Regions from separate parts of the Homo sapiens genome. Here region 2 is linked to region 1. The links are contacts of gene promoters, found by promoter capture Hi-C in human tissues and cell types (Jung and others, 2019). All regions are on one chromosome and are shown on one strand. Each heading gives the region's core, a stretch centred on a gene start or on the middle of the fragment in contact. The rest is flanking DNA. Distances are from core to core; before and after follow the strand shown. Region 1 holds the start of TRERF1 (transcriptional regulating factor 1). Region 2 overlaps UBR2 (ubiquitin protein ligase E3 component n-recognin 2).

What was found. The method cuts DNA at HindIII sites, captures the fragments that hold promoters and counts their contacts. A contact is called where the count stands out against the background at its distance.
Region 2: a contact is called between a fragment that was not itself captured here and the fragment with the promoter of TRERF1 in region 1, in 1 of the 25 tissues and cell types used here (bladder).

Annotation. Positions count from the first base shown.
Region 1 is chr6:42,450,507-42,453,438 of GRCh38, reverse strand. TRERF1 (transcriptional regulating factor 1) reads left to right here and starts at 1,513. Exons shown (of 18, transcript NM_001395490.1): 1 at 1,513-1,765; 2 at 2,178-2,262. It overlaps LOC124900214 (arf-GAP with GTPase, ANK repeat and PH domain-containing protein 2-like), which reads right to left and starts at 1,079. Exons shown (of 4, transcript XM_047419627.1): 1 at 1-1,079. The coding sequence starts at 618. It overlaps LOC107986596 (a long non-coding RNA gene), which reads right to left and starts at 1,079. Exons shown (of 5, transcript NR_171668.1): 1 at 814-1,079. RefSeq lists silencers at 59-498, 969-1,048. The HindIII fragment of the contact is 3,351 bases long and covers 1-2,900 here.
Region 2 is chr6:42,606,321-42,609,252 of GRCh38, reverse strand. UBR2 (ubiquitin protein ligase E3 component n-recognin 2) reads right to left here. Exons shown (of 47, transcript NM_001363705.2): 7 at 2,602-2,664. Among named protein-coding and RNA genes, the nearest start is that of UBR2, 44 kb to the right of the region's middle. The HindIII fragment of the contact is 7,960 bases long and covers 1-2,932 here.

The DNA of each region.
Region 1 (2,932 bases), core at 264-2,763:
CCGACCACTGCCACGCCTTCTCGGGACCTGGGGGCCGTCCTGCTGTTGCCCTCCGCCCCCGCCCGCGCCGCGGAGGTTTGAACCTTCGGCTCGCCTTTCAGCCCGCGCCCTGCCCCCTGCTCGCAGCTGCTCCCGGTTTGGGTGCAGCGGTTTCCCCCGCAGAGGAGGAGGAGGAGACAGCGCGAGGGAGCGACTCCGGGCTCGGGTTTCCGCACCAATGCCGAGCAGCCCCGGGCGGCCCCCGGTGGCCGTCCCTCCTCCCCGGCACCACGTTCCACAGTCATGGCGCGCGAGGAGGGGCGAGCGCGCGCGGCGGCTGCACCCGCGCCCCCTCTCCTCCCCTCCCCTCCGCCGCCCGGCCCCTCTCCTAGGCAACCCCCCTCCCCGGCCTGCTGCGCCTGCCGCGGCAAGGGAGACCCCTCCCCAGAGAGCTGCTCTTCCAGCGCGGTCTACTGCACCCCTTCCCCGCCCCCATCGGGGCGGAGGGATGGAGACGCGCGCTTCGCGAACCTCCAGCCCCTTCTCCGGAGCCCCAGCCCTCTCCCAGCCCCACCGAGGCCAGGGTGCGGTGGGGGTAGGCGCGGACCGTCTCCTCGCAGCCCGCCTCGACCTCGGCATCTTTGCAAACACTTAGAAAAATAAACAAACCCCCTCACAAACCCCAGTCGTTAGCTTGCAAAGCGTGTTACAATAACCGGGACGGCTACGCAGGAAGCAATCCTGCACTGGTCCGGGTTTAAGGCGGCAGCTTCCCGGCCACGCTGCCTTCTCCCCGGCCTCGATTTTCCGGCCATGCCGGAGGGTCCGCTGCACCTCAGGGCTGACAGGTCCCGCTCGCGCAGGGCCGCAACTGGGCCCGTGTCCCCCGTCCCATCCTCGTCCAGAGACTCGCCAGCCTACAAAAGGTGCAACCTCACGCACACGCAAAGCGCACAAATAAAGTCAGCAGCGCACCGCCGCGAAGGCTGCGAACAATGCGCCGGGCGGCCCGCGCCCGCCGTAGCGCTGCGCCCCGGGGGAAAGGGGACGCGGGCGGGGGCCGAGGCGGACGACCAGCCGGTCGCGGCGCTGGACACCTTACTTCCTGCTTCCCCGCCCGCGGCCAGACCCAGCTCTGCGGAGGGATATCTCCCCTCCTCGGTCCCTCTCCCTCCCTTCCCCCTCCCTTCCCCCGCCCTCCCCCTCTTTTTGCTCCTGCTCCCCCCCCCCACCCCGCCTTTCTCCTTTTGCAAGAAAATAATTTGACAGTCGATTTGCTGACAAGGGAGGAATTTGCATCCTGGATTTAAAAAAAAAAAAAAGGCCGAGAGGAGCTTGGGAACGGTTGCTAGGGGTGGGTAATGGGTGAAAAAAGGGGGGTACCGGGGAGCGGATAAGGAGGGTTAAGGGAGGGGGCGAGGATGGGGAGCAATGCAAAGGTAAGGCCAGGTTACCGCGGCTCGGCCCCGAGTGGGCTGCGACCGGGGGAGGGGCGAGAGATACATATGTATTTCTGTCTCCCCAGCACACCCCCTTCCCTCTAAGCGATGGCTGAGAGGCGGTGCATGCAGATGGGGAGTAAGTTTCCTGAAGGGGAGGGTGGATGCACGCGCGCAGCCCGGCGCTGCAAATTTCCACTGGGGAGGGAGAACGGCTGGATGCGGAGAGTTTGGAGTTGCTTGCGGCGGAGGGCAGGAAGGGGAGCAGGGCTGGGAAAGGGGGCTGGCGGGCGCTATATCTGGGAGTAAGTTTCCAGCATCAGGAGAGCCTGCACGCTTGCTCACTAGTAAGTTTCTGGCCGGGGAGGGCGCATGGGGAGGAGGAGAGGGAGGGGTGCATGTATATAGAAGGGGGGAGGGGGGAGCAGATTTCCTGCGGGGAGGCTGAATGCATATGGAGAGTAGATTTCCTGAAGGGAGGGTGGAGGCGTAGACGGACCGAGTAAGTTTCTTGCTGGGGTGGTGGAGGAGGTGGTGGGTTGGTGCTTTGGAAACCCAAAGCTTCCTACCCTGGGTGGGGGAGCACACTCTTGTCGGGGGGACGAGGGGCCAGGTTCCCTGCTGGGGAGAGGGGCTTGCATCTGGGGAGTATGTTTCCTGGCGGAGCGATATTTGTTTACAGGCTGAGGGCAGTACAGTAAGTGAGTAGCGCTGAGAGAAGGCGGCTGACATAAATTAATATTGAAATTACTCCATCAGCTCTGCTCGCCCCCCATCTCACCCCCCAAGCGGATACTGGTCTTCTCGTCGGATTGCCCATGCACTTGTTGCAGAAACAGCCAAGGTAGGCAAGAAGCTTATTAAGTTTCATTTTTAAAAAATTAGTTTGGGGATGCTCCTCGAGAAGACGGGGGTGGGGCGAAGTGGGGAGGGAAGAGTGGGGAGACAGAAGGAGAAGTCTCCCCCCCCTTTACTTTCACTATGCAAGCAGGCCTTCTCCCTTCTTCCCTTCTTCCCTCTCCGGGCTGCACAGCATCCCAGCAAAGGGGGAGGGATGAGGTGGGCGCTATAATTGGCAACCCTGGCTTAAAGGTAGTGATGGTGGGCTTGCATTTGAGGTTGTGATGTTATAAAGGCTTCATTCTCCAGCTAAGAAACCGCAGGACTCTGCCTTTTGGGGTTTTTGACATGATACATATGTGTATGTATACGCGCCTGCGGGCTCTGTGGGGGCTGGGTACTCCCCAGAAGTTAGTGTGGCCACCCAGATGGGAGAAATGTGTAAGGGGGTAAACCTGTTCCTTCACTCCCCAACTTCAGTTTGGGAGACTGGGAAGTTACTGCCGGTGGTCTTAAGAAACAGATATTAAAAACCAACCAAACCACTCCTTCACCAGCGGAGGCCGAGAGCACCTGGCAGGCAGCCTCTGGCCAGCACTGGACTGGAGCATGTGCGCCTGCCATCCTTAGGTTACAAGAAAACGCTTTCTGGTTCCTCCGTGTGTCTTCTACCG
Region 2 (2,932 bases), core at 149-2,648, 160 kb before region 1:
TGTATACACACTTACTGGTACTTGTATTTCTATGAGATAAATTCCTAGGTGAGGTAAAGCTTTAACACGTTACTAGACTGTTTTCCCTAAATGCTGTAGCAATTTATTGTTAAGCATGTATTCCCAGTCTTTGCATCTCTTCAAGATATTTTATCACTCTAACTTCATGTATATTGACCAGCTAGATTTTCTGTTATGATCTGTCTTTTCATATCCTTTGTCCATTTTCTATTTTATTGTTTGTTCCCTACTTGATAATCTGTAAGTACAGTTTCTGATACATTATTAAATTGAATATGTTGAGACATTAAGGAAGAATTTCTTAAACAAGTCATAAAACATACAAATTATAAAGAAAAATATATCTTTTGCTACATTAAAATTTAAAGTTTTTGCTCAATGAAAGGCACCACAACAAACTTAAATGAATAAGAAAAAGACAATCCAACAGAAAAAATAAGAATATGCATAGGAAATTTGCCAAAAAGAAAACTTAAATGACCAATAGAACAAATATAAAATAAGATACTTAAAAATCAAGGAAAATGCAAATTTAACTGATGAACTACCATTTCACACACATCAGATTGGCAAGTTTTTTTTGTTTTTTGTTTTTTCTTCTTAACACAAGATCTTGTTCTGTCACCCAGGCTAGAGTGTACTCGTGTAATCAAAGCTCACTATACCCTTGGACTCCTGGGCTCAGGCAATCCTTCTACCTCAGCCTCCTGAGTAGCTAGGACTACATGTGTGCACCATCATTCCTGGCTAATTTTTTAAATTTTTTTTTGTAGAGTCGGGGTCTTGCTCTGTTGCCCAGGCTGGTCCCAAACTCTTGGCCTCAAGCGATCCTCTTGCCTCTGCTTTCCAAAATGCTAGGATTACAGGATTACAGATGTGAGCCCCAGTGTCTGGCCCAGATTGGCAAAATTTAAAAATTTGACAATATATAGTTTTAACAAAGATGTGGAGAAACAGGCCCTCTTATATACTGCTGGTGGGAAAGTATATTAGTACCACAGTTTTGGAGATGAACTAGGCAAAATCTAGTAAAGCTGAGAATGTCCATACCCTAAAAACTCAGAAATTCCATTTCTTGGTATATACCGTAGGGAAACTTTTGTATCTATGTAAAAAGGAGACAAAATAATGCCCATAACGGGAGTATTTGTCACAGCAAAAAACTGAAAACATCCTAATTGTCTATCAACAGGAGAATAAATAAATTGTGGTTTAATCATCATGAAATACTATACAATGTTTAAAACATGAATGAACTACAGCAACACTTATCAACACAGATAAACCTAAAAACAACACTGAAATGAAAAGGCAAGCTGCAGTGTAATACATTCAATATGTATCTTGTTACATAATGTTTAAAGACCCCTATATAATGTTGATGGATATTTAATATATGAAATATAAAGGAACGCACAAGAATGAAAAAAGTAAATTAAGCAAAGTAATTATTGCTAGGGAAGGAGAAAGGATAATGGGGGAAACCCCTTCTCTACTAAAAAAAAAAAAAAAAAAAAAACAGCTGGGAGTGGTGGGACATGCCTGTCCTCCCAGCTGGGAGTGGTGGGACATGCCTGTCCTCCCAGCTACTCAAGAGGCTGAGGCACAAGAACTGCTTGAACCCAGGAGGCAGAGGTTGCAGTGAGTGGAGATCATGCCACTAAACCCCAGCCTGGGTGACAGAGTAAGACTCTGTCTCAAACAACAACAACAAAATGATAATAATACAGGGGCCTCCATATTATTTTATATATTTAAAAGAAATTTGAGGTGTGGTGGCTCACACCTGTAATCCCAACACTTTGGGAGTCTGAGGTGGGTGGATCACTTGAGCCCAGGAGTTTGAGACCAGCCTGGATAACATGGTGAAACCCCATCTCTACTAGAAATACAAAAATTAGCTGGGCGTGGCTGTGTGCACTTGTAATCCCAGTTACTTGGAAGGCTGAGGCTGAATCACTTGAACCCAGGAGGCAGAGGAAGTTGCAGTGAGCCGAGATTGCACCACTGCACTCCAGCCTGGGCAACAGAGACTATTCGGAAAAAAAAAAAAAAGATAAAATTATTTTTTAAAAAGAATATTTACATAAAATTCAGTTACATGGAATGGTGAAAAATAAATTCTAATTTCTAAAAATAAATCCAAATGTGGAGAATAGTTTGTGCTTTTAGAAAGATGATACACTACTTGCTATGAGGATATGGAATATATTTTGCCATAAGGTACCAAGAAACAACTTTGCTTGCATTATAATCATGGTGCTTAAGGCCATTTAAATTTCTAAGAAGTAACACAAAATTCTACTAATTAAAAACAAAACAGAAAGCGAAAAACATTCTAAGACTGCTTTGATGGAGAAATGGGAATATATCTTATCTAAATACTCATTTTCTATATCAATCCTACACAGCTTTAAAAAACTAGATAAAACAATAATGCAATATTTAAGAAACATTATCTTTAAACATAATTTTTGGTTTTCATTTGAGAAAGCAGAAAGACATGTTCATAAATGCTGAAATATGAAGCTAGTTTTAAACTAATAAAAAATAATATAAGCATGTTTTTAAATTACTTACCACAATTACTGATTTTGCTTGCTCACAATACTGAAAATCTCCATATCGAACAGACCTACGCCCCTGTAAAGATATTTAAAATTAAGCTGTAAAAGTATTGTATTCAATATTAATAACTTTTAAACCAGTAAACAAACATGTTTAAGCATATAACAATTCTGATCAATTTTCAATATTTACAATGCTCATCCTACTCATTGATAAGTTAGTTAAAATTTTCCTTCAAAGCTATGCTAACTTTTCCAAGCCATTAATAAATATTTCCTTGAACAAAACATTTATTATTTTAGGCATCTATAATTTCCATTTTAATAACTATATGTTCTCTTAA